Linked DNA regions of Homo sapiens: all the other regions are linked to region 1. Evidence: promoter capture Hi-C in 16 types of primary human blood cells and fetal thymus (Javierre and others, 2016). All regions are on one chromosome and are shown on one strand. The core of a region is centred on a gene start or on the middle of the fragment in contact, and the rest is flanking DNA. Distances in the headings are between cores, read along the strand shown. Region 1 holds the start of C8orf88 (chromosome 8 open reading frame 88). Region 2 overlaps OTUD6B (OTU deubiquitinase 6B). Region 3 overlaps OTUD6B-AS1 (OTUD6B antisense RNA 1).

What was found. The method cuts DNA at HindIII sites, captures the fragments that hold promoters and counts their contacts. A CHiCAGO score of 5 or more calls a contact.
Region 2: a contact is called between a fragment that was not itself captured here and the fragment with the promoter of C8orf88 in region 1, in 3 of 17 cell types (fetal thymus, monocytes and M2 macrophages). The highest score is 7.7, in fetal thymus.
Region 3: a fragment that was not itself captured here is called in contact with the fragment with the promoter of C8orf88 in region 1 in 1 of 17 cell types (fetal thymus); the score reaches 8.7 in fetal thymus.

The regions. Positions count from the first base shown.
Region 1 is chr8:90,983,580-90,986,699 of GRCh38, reverse strand. C8orf88 (chromosome 8 open reading frame 88) reads left to right here and starts at 1,462. Exons shown (of 6, transcript NM_001190972.2): 1 at 1,462-1,586. RefSeq lists a silencer at 1,279-1,438. The HindIII fragment of the contact is 2,363 bases long and covers 1-2,185 here.
Region 2 is chr8:91,086,803-91,089,922 of GRCh38, reverse strand. It overlaps OTUD6B (OTU deubiquitinase 6B), which reads right to left. Exons shown (of 7, transcript NM_016023.5): 7 at 2,830-3,120. Among named protein-coding and RNA genes, the nearest start is that of LRRC69, 14 kb to the left of the region's middle. The HindIII fragment of the contact is 5,637 bases long and covers 1-3,120 here.
Region 3 is chr8:91,058,675-91,061,794 of GRCh38, reverse strand. It overlaps OTUD6B-AS1 (OTUD6B antisense RNA 1), which reads left to right. Exons shown (of 3, transcript NR_110438.1): 3 at 1-1,889. Among named protein-coding and RNA genes, the nearest start is that of OTUD6B-AS1, 10 kb to the left of the region's middle. The HindIII fragment of the contact is 549 bases long and covers 1,313-1,861 here.

The DNA of each region.
Region 1 (3,120 bases), core at 213-2,712:
TGTCAAGTTCTTGTTGTAAAGGTATGAATTCTAGATTATCCTTGTAGATGCCAAAATTTTATGTCATTATCAATAAGATTTTGAAAAGTTTCGATATGTTTATATGGTTCATTTTTCTTCCTCAATTATCAAAAAATCAAGGAGTCTGTCTAGTCTAATTTCTCTCTTCCTCTCAATAAATTACTAATACTGATCTGAATTGGAATTCTTCCAATTTACATTTTTGTCACAATAGTTTCTACTGACTTCATACAGTGATATGCACAAAATAATTTTATTGTAAGATGTATATAAAATTATACATGCTTCATTGTTAAGTATATTCCTGAAGAAGAAAACTTCTGTTGTGACTAGATGGATGAGAACCACATCCTGCACTTAAGATTTTCTACATCTGGTGGTTGGAATATATTGATTCCACTGTGCAGACTTCTGGTGCCTCACCCCAAGGGATGCCCTTTTATCATGACCCATCTCTGACCCTGGACCCTAGGTCTCTGATGCCAGGCGAGTTGTCTCAGTGGATAGTAGGAGTGTTTCTGGAAGCCATTTCTAAACGGAGACAGCTCCAATAACTTGACTATACATGGAAGTGCTTGTGAAACTTCATACCTTCCAAAATGGTAAATCCTGATAGTGCCCCACTTAAAACCGTTCAGTGTTTGCCAGTGCATTTTCAACTGTCCTTTTGGTGCTTGGGGACGTGAGGGACTGCCACCTCCACGTCCCTCAGTACAAGCAGACAGTCCCCCTCTGGGGACACTCAAAGATAATGAAAAATTAGCAAAAGGATTGAAGGTGAAGATTAAAAAGAAATGATTCGGATGGAGTTGCCTTAATTCATTTTGTTCCTTTCAGGATGGCAGTCTGTGTGAAACGCTGTATCCCTGGTCTGAGGTAAACCAGGTCTCAAACATCTTCCTCCCTGCCAACCCGAATCCCGACACCCACTAAATGCACCAAGGGGAAAGCAGCGCCTGCCAGCAGCTCTGACGGGGGACAGGAGTAGGGTGGACTCAGTCGTCAGCACGACGGCGGCCTCCCTCACAGAGGCGGCCTCCCTCACAGACGCTGCCTGGAACCCGCCGCCAAGCCCCCAGCAGGCGGCCCGCCTGGCGCCTCCCAGTCTTCGCACAAGCAGGGCCACGGTCTGGGGCCCCCAAGGCCGTTCACGCGGGCGCGCCCCGTCGAGGGCTAGCCTGTCAGCGCCTCACTCGCGGCCTCCTACCCTAGACGACCGGCTCTGGGTGGCGCCGCTCCAACCCCACGCGCCCAGCTCGCCCGGGAAAGCGCGCGCCACCCTTTTAACGGTTCTACCCCGGCAGGGGTGCGGCTGCTCTCGAGGCTCAGCGCCCGAGGCCACGCCCCGCGCCCGCCCTGGGCCCGCCTCGTGCCCCTCGGAGCCGCCTCCCGCCCCGCCCCCCGCCCCTCGCCCCCCGCCCCTCGCCCCCCGCCGCCGCCACCGCGGTCAGCCAGCGGACCAGCGGCAGGAGCCGTTCCCCGACGGGCAGCAGGGCGCTCGGCCTCCGCGTGTGGGCTGAGCGCGGCGACGCTGCTGCCCCGAAATCCCCGTGGATTTTGAGTCGGTAAGTGGCTAGGGAGGATGAGCGACACTGGGGGACGGAAGTCGGGCCCCGTGGTGTGGAGGAGGCGGGTGGGCGCCGTCTCCCAGGCCCGACCCCGGGAAAGTTGAGGCGAGGAAGAGAAGCTCTGAGGTGGGTCGGGAAATCTCTCAGGGCCCCTTCAGTACCCTGTGGACCCTGAATGGGAGTGGGATGGGAGCGAGAGCGTCGGATGAGGGGAAAGAAAGTGTAGGGGGCCAGGGGAGCCCGACGGAGGGGCAAGTGGCCGAGACCAAAGCCATCGCCAAAAAAGGAGCTAAGTACACAGCTCCCCTTGGCTCTGCCCCAGCACCTGGTGCCAGGCGGTGGGAGGCTTTCAAGACGATTTGCCCCCTCCACCCGGTGGCACAAGGTTTTCATTGCTGGTGTTTTAGTCAAAGCTACGGAAAGGACAGTTACATGACTAAAGTAATCACAGACACCTATTACCTGGACAGCTTTAGCCCATCCGAATGTTAAATTGTGTTTTGTTTTGAGAAATCCCTCAAATAGACCAAAAAAAAAATTAAATTAGTTATAAAGAGAAGGCATGAAATGGAAGATATGTTGGAACTCTCCAAGCTTCTAGTTTTTTGATATTTTCGTTTTAATTTTTCCTTAATAGTGCAACCAGATATATGGAACGTGAAATGTCTTTCACCACTTGAGTCATAGGTGGTTTATTTCTTACTCCCCGATGTTTCCTGTATGTTTCTCTTCATCTATCATTTTGTCAGTGTGAGCAGTTTACTTACAAGCAGTATTGGGTTTCAAGGAATCCTAACTTTGTAATGTTTTGAAGTTGGAAATTGAGATGAAATTTTATCTGGTTATCATATGGGAATTATACACAAGGTAAATTCAAATATGGTCTTTTCATTTCATTATTTCACTTTATATGATCTTATTTCTCAACGGCAGCGGTAGCATCAGTACTTTCCAAAGAAGACTAGAATTTATATTGGAGTTTAAGTATAGTACTCAGCTTCTAAAAACAGTGCATAGTATATTTCATATGCTGTGATCTATGGTTAGTATGGCAGTATACCATGTCTGTAGCGTGAGGAAAGCACAGTACTCCCTAATTTATTTAGTATTCTAAGAAAAATGGTAAATTGAAGAAATGGATATTATTAGCATATACCAATTTATTCTGCATGGCCTTATAAATAAATGTTACTTTTCACATTAATTTTTAAATCTATACACGCAGTGTCCACATGTAATAAATGGACAGTCAGATATCTTTCTTTTATGTAACAAATAGGCAAGTTTTGATATAAAGGTGTGAACTTTGTAGTCAAATCCTAATATCTAGCACTTAGTAGCTATGTGGACTTGGGCATGTCTCTTATTTTTCTGAGCCTCAGGTTTCTTATCTGTGAAGTGGGACTAATAATAATTTTCTTCCACCGTTCATATATGGCTCAAAATTAAATGAAATTATATTTAGTATGTAGTAGGACCTTAAAAAGGCATCTTAATTAAAAAATAAGATTAATAAGATTTTGGCCAAAGT
Region 2 (3,120 bases), core at 435-2,934, 100 kb before region 1:
TAAGAATATGAAGAGAAAGGAAAAAAAGTTAAGGTCCATTCAGCTTTTTCAAAGGGGATTCATGTAAGTCTGGCATTAGGCAGTTGCTAAAGTCATGTAAAGTAGATGACTAACTGCCTAATGTGTCCAATTTGTGATCTAAATGGTTTTCTTTAGAACTTTCCAACCTCATTAGCAATAAAACTTATGATTTAGTAAGTGGTTCTCAACTGGGGGCAATTTTGTTCCCAGGGAGACATTTTTTGTTCTTACAACTTTGGAGGGGGATGATACAGGTACTTAGAAAGGAGATGCTGCTGCTAAACATCTTACAATGCCACAACAAAGAATTATCCAACTCAAAATGTTAATAGTGCCACTGATGAAAATCTCTGATCTAGGTATATCAGGCCTTTCCAATGTCAGTCACAAGAGTAGGGGTGGGTGGGGGGTGGGGGAAATGCCTGATTCAAAAACAGCAATTTTTCCATCAGGATTTGGCAAAGTGAAAAAAACCCTTACTTACTGCAAATTAAAACCACAATGAGGTACCATCTCACACCAGTCAGAATGGGTATTATTAAAAAGCCAAAAATTAACAGAAATTGCCAAGGATATGGAGAAAAGGGAACACTTATACATTGTTGGTGAGAATGTAAATTAGTTCAACCCCTGTGGAAAACAGTATGGAGATTTCCCAAAGAATTAAAGATGTAACTACCATTCAATCCAGCAATCCCACTACTGGTTATCTACCCAAAGGAAAAGAAATCATTCTATCAAAAAAACATCTACACTCATGTTTATCAAAGCACTATTCACAATAGCAAAGTCATGGAATCAACCTAAGTGCCTATCACTGGTAGATTAAAGAAAATGTGGTACATAGACACCATGGAATACTATGCAGCTATAAAAAAGAATGAAATCATGTCCTTTGCAGCAACATGGACGTAGCTAGAAGCCATTATCTAAGTGAATTAACACAGAAACAGAAAATCAAATACCACATGTTCTCGCTTATAAAATGAGAGCTAAACAATGGATACACATGGACATAAAGATGGAAATAACAGACAGTGGGGACTCCAAAAGGGTAGGGGAGGTTGATAAACTACCTATTGGGTACAATGTTCACTATTTAGGTGACAGATTCTATAAAAACACACATTCCAGCATTATAAAATATACCCATGTAACAAACCTGCACATGTACCCTTTAAATCTAAAATAGAAAATTAAGAAATAAAATGAAATGAAAAATTTTAAAAACTCATGTAATTTACTTTTTAAAGTGAGGTCATTATTTTTGTTCATCAACTCATGCACTGAAGTTATTGATCCCCATGTTAATCCTATATTTGGTTAAAATTATAAACAATAAATAAGACTTTTTGTCAATACAAGAGTGACAAACAAGAGCTAGATTATATATCATCCCTATTCACGGAAATAAAAATTCAGCAGCCTTATAGAAAGGCAGCAATTTGTTCCAGTATGTCATACTAGTCATCCTGATTATACTGAAATAAGACAACTATAAAACTTCTTCATGGTCAGTATATTAAAAAAGGTTTTAATTTTTTTCTAACTGTACACTTATTTTATAGGATTCTTATATTTGTGTAGATTTATTAAAATCAGACATTACCCTAATTGGTATATGAAGGTAAATTAGCTGAAACATTACTTTTGGAAGTTAAGAAAAATGAAAGCTCTGTTGGGTTCCCTTTCTCCCTTCAACTGACCAAAAGACTTGAAGAATTCATCCAAGGGCAAGGTAAATTAAAAAGCAGGCCTTTTGCGAGCAAGCACAATTCTAAATCATATCCATCTCTCTATTCCCAGCAGTCTGTTAACCTAATGCAACTTCTTACTCATATCCTATCCTCTCAACTGATAGTCTGTCAACAAACATTTTTTAAGCACGCAATGCAGACAGGCCAGGCAATGTGCTAAGTATTTTAAGAGCAGTGAACAAGAAATTCTTGTTTCTAAGCTCTTAACACAGTATGGAAAAAAATAGATGAAAAACAACTAAATTCAAGTAAGTGATTACAAGTGTGTACGTATTAGAAAGAAACAAGATTGGGAGGAGTCTGAGGAGGGTTGTCTCAGAAGGTACTATCAATATGTAAACTGAGACTAGAAAGACAAGGAAGCTGGATAAAGCAGGTTGGGTGAAACATTCAATTCTGAATGGTAGTTCCAAGACCTCAAGTGGGAGAGAACAATGGTGGGTTAAAAGACCCATGTGTTAAGAATTAAAACCTCATGAGCTCTAAGATAAAGACTTAAGACAGGAGGAAACAATCAATGTATGAGGTAACAGAACAGGCAGAGAAAAATTTCATCTGTTCGATAAAAGTTTAAAAAAAAAAAGCATGAAATCACCAAATAAATTCTCAGAAGATCAACTGATCTAGTCCTTCAGCTACTTCATAAGAACCTGTACCAAGAAGGCACTATATTAACAATTGTGTGAAAACATTAATTTGTACAAACTTCCTTCTTACTGCTCCACATTCTTGCACACAAATGTTTATTCTTTATTTTAACATCTATGGGTCTTAAAATATTTTTCAAATTCACTTACCCTAAATAAACATTCATTATTCTAAAAGGTTCTAAGATTGTACCTGATTTCTAAGAGCTATAGCTTAAATGGCTATTACTTTATTTCCCTCTACTTCTGGGGCATAAGCTATGCTCATATATTTATTCAAAATCCCTTAAAATGTAAGAATCTGTGTGTGAAGACAAAGTAAAGGCTGGATACAAAGCAAAAGGAGTTTTCTCCACTTCTAAATTCTTGAATTGTTAAAGAATGACAATTCAAGCAAATAAATGTTGATTTAATTCATTCATTTTTTATTCTTTTTTTGGCAAACATCACATAATATAAGCAAAACTATGCGTTCACTATAGTTACACACATTCTTTTTTGCTTTATACAAGTTGTAAACAAATTTAAGTGAATAAAATTCTTGGCTAAAGACATATTCCAGAACTCTGACATATACTTTTCAGAGTTAGGACAAAAGAAAGCATATGTAACTTCCATTAGACCATCATCATATGAAAAAGTAAATTAGCATATGCTGCTTTTAAATTAACATCTGTCATTTTATTTAAACACTT
Region 3 (3,120 bases), core at 338-2,837, 75 kb before region 1:
ACTACCTATTTCTTGAAATACCATAAGTGCTAATATATACTTGCAATAGATAAACATGAGGAGTATTACAAATACAAGAGATAGCAGGAACTATTTTAATATTAAGAGATATCAAATATGCACGCTAGGATTAATAAATGAAATAATTATTTTCCTTCTTCTACAATATTTACTTAATCTGGAGGCAGAAATACATGTTGTCTCTCTTCCTGCTTCTCCATCAAAATCCCGACCAAGTAATCAGGATCTTTGAGAATCACAATAAGAATTACAGCCTCATGTTTGGATTTTTTAAATTTAAATTTTAAATTACTCCTTTCCACTGATATTTATTGAGAAACTGCTATGCTCCAGGTACTGCGATAAACACTGGGCAAATGTTGGAGAGCTAAAAAGGCATATTCCTCTTATAAAGACATTATTTACTTGTAACAAACAAGTAAATAAATGTATTAGTCAATATGTAAGTAAACAAAAAAATGGACAAGCACAAATTATATTAAGTACTATGTAGGAAACCAATAGAGTACTGTAACAGAATAATAAGGTATATGGGATGGGGGTGGGAATCTGTTCAGAGATGATCTACCTGAGAAGGTAACATGTAGGCAGAGATCTGAATCGTGAGGAGTCAGCCTTTCAGAGTAAGTGGAGTAGGCACTTCCAAGAGAAAAGCATATTCCTGGCTATTTGCCTATCAATGTCATCTTGAACAAGGGTTAGCAATCTCCTACCTGTACCACAGATGCTATGTGCCACCTCCATGCTACCTTTGCCACCAAGAGATTCAATGTGATGCATGATTTGAAGGTTCCTCATCCTGATACCCTGTGGAAAGTAAAATCAGTGACAAATAAAAGCAGATCATTATCTCAGGTAGAGTCTGCTAAAGATGATACTTGCTTGTCAGTACATGAGTATCCACCCTAGTAAAAAACCACAGAAGAAGTGGGATTTATCTTCAATGTTCTCTCACTTCCCCTTCCAAGTGCCTCTCCTGCCTTCTGATGCTCTTTCCCACAAGTTGCAGGCAAATAAAGCATGTATATTACTCTCTTTTTATCCAGAGTTGCTCCTTGTCCTTATATGAAGTAGATTCCAGACCTCACAATTGTATATGCCTACCCTTCTACTCCAACCCCTCAAAAAAAGAGGAAGAATGAAAGAATGAACAAGAGAAAAGGAAGGAAGAGAGGGAGAGAGGAAAGGAGGGAAGGATGGTCCTGAAGATCACAGTTCGGTGCTGAAAAAAGCATTTCTATTAAACTTCAAGACAGAATGAATGACCATAGCTAATAATGTACCTTAAGCTTTTCTAGAATCTTTGTATTAAAAAAGTTGATTGTTACTAAATGTATTTTAATCTCATAAAATTTTAGGAATTTAAATGAAGAATTTCACAAAGGGTAAGAAAAATTATATATTATATTTATAAATTTGTCATTATGATTCTCCCATTGTGGAAAAAAAAACAAAATCTCGGTACCCCAATTCACAAAGCCAAAAGGAAGAAAGTAAGCTGAACGCTGAGTCATGCAAGAAACTGCTCGCTTTTGTTCCTAAGCTAATAGCTACAGATAAAAGGTCAGATATCTCCATAGGTAGGTACTCTATGTTCACCTTATGTAAAGTGCCAATTTATTGAGCGTAAGAGGATTACCTAATTGACTATTCCCCAGCCTGCTCCTTTTCTCTTGCAACACATGGAGTCAGCAATGGGACCATATCCTCTCTCTTTCCCCTCCAGCCTGCTTTCCCCCTTTAAATACTGAAGCCCTCAAAATCATCTTTCTAAAAAGGTATGAACCATAGATTGTTCCTGTGGATTTGTGTTTCTTTCTTCCGGGCATATCCTTAAGCTTGGCAAAATAAAATTCTAAATTGATTGAGTCCTGTCTCGGATGCTTTTTGGTTTACGCTATCAAGGTTTGGAAGGCTTAAGACATGTCATTAAGGTACTTTATTTCCTTCTAGCATTTTGATTATACTGAAATTGGGTAATTAGTGGTGCCTGTTTTGAGTAACATGGTGAGTAGAATTAAGAATGGAAAGCACTGGGAAAGGGAAAACAAAAACACATCAAAGATTTCCACCTTTACTTCCTTAGTTTTTTTAAAGAAAAATTAAATGTATTATCTAATCACAAGCTACAAATTAAAATATTTGATTTACTTTTTCAGCAAAAGTTATAAATTATCGAATAGAAATTGGGAAAAGATATGTCATTTTTAACAGTGTTAAAATCTTAGTTATACTCATTTGACTAGTTAGTACAGCTCTTATTTACTTATTCTACAGACAGGTACACTCTTTTATCCTTGTATAGAAGTTACTTTAATTTTTTAGTATTTAAGTTATCCTTAAAATACAACATGAAGCTATTTTACCATATATAATTTACTTAAATATTCTTAAAATAACATTACTTTTAAATAAAATATGTATGTGAATTTAAGAATTCCTTTCTCTAACTCCAGTCCTCAAATGTGACCACTGTTAATAAATCCACTTAATATAAATATCATAATACAAACAGCAGCTGCGTGATCCTTACAAGCTGTGTTAGTTTCCTTGGCCTGCAGTAACAAAGTATCAAAATATGGGTGGCTTAAAACAATAGAAATGTATTATTTTATAATTCTGAAGGCTAAAGTTTGAAGTTAAGATGTCAAAGCCATGCTCCCTCTGAACACATCAGTTCTCTCAGATTTATTATTTCCTTTCCTTTGCTAAATTTAGGTTTTATTTGCTCCTTTGTGCCTAGTTTTTTAAAGTGGAAGCTGAGGCTGTTGACTTGAAATTTTTTTTCTTTCTAATACAGACAGTTTCATGGGATAATTTTTTATTTGAGGATTGCTTTAGAGCATTCCACAAATTTTGGTTTGTTGTGTTTTTTTTTCCAATTCAAAGTACTAATTTCTCTTTTGATTTCTTCGTTGATACATGAGTCATTTAGCATGTGCCTTTTTTGGAAAACTTTATGTTTTGATTTATTTTAGGCTCACTTAGAAGTTGCCAAAAAAATAGAGTTCCTTTATACTCTTCAACCAGCTATGCTGCCGTAAAAAAAAATAAAATAAAATTATGTCCTTTGCAACAACATGGATGCAGCTGAAAGCC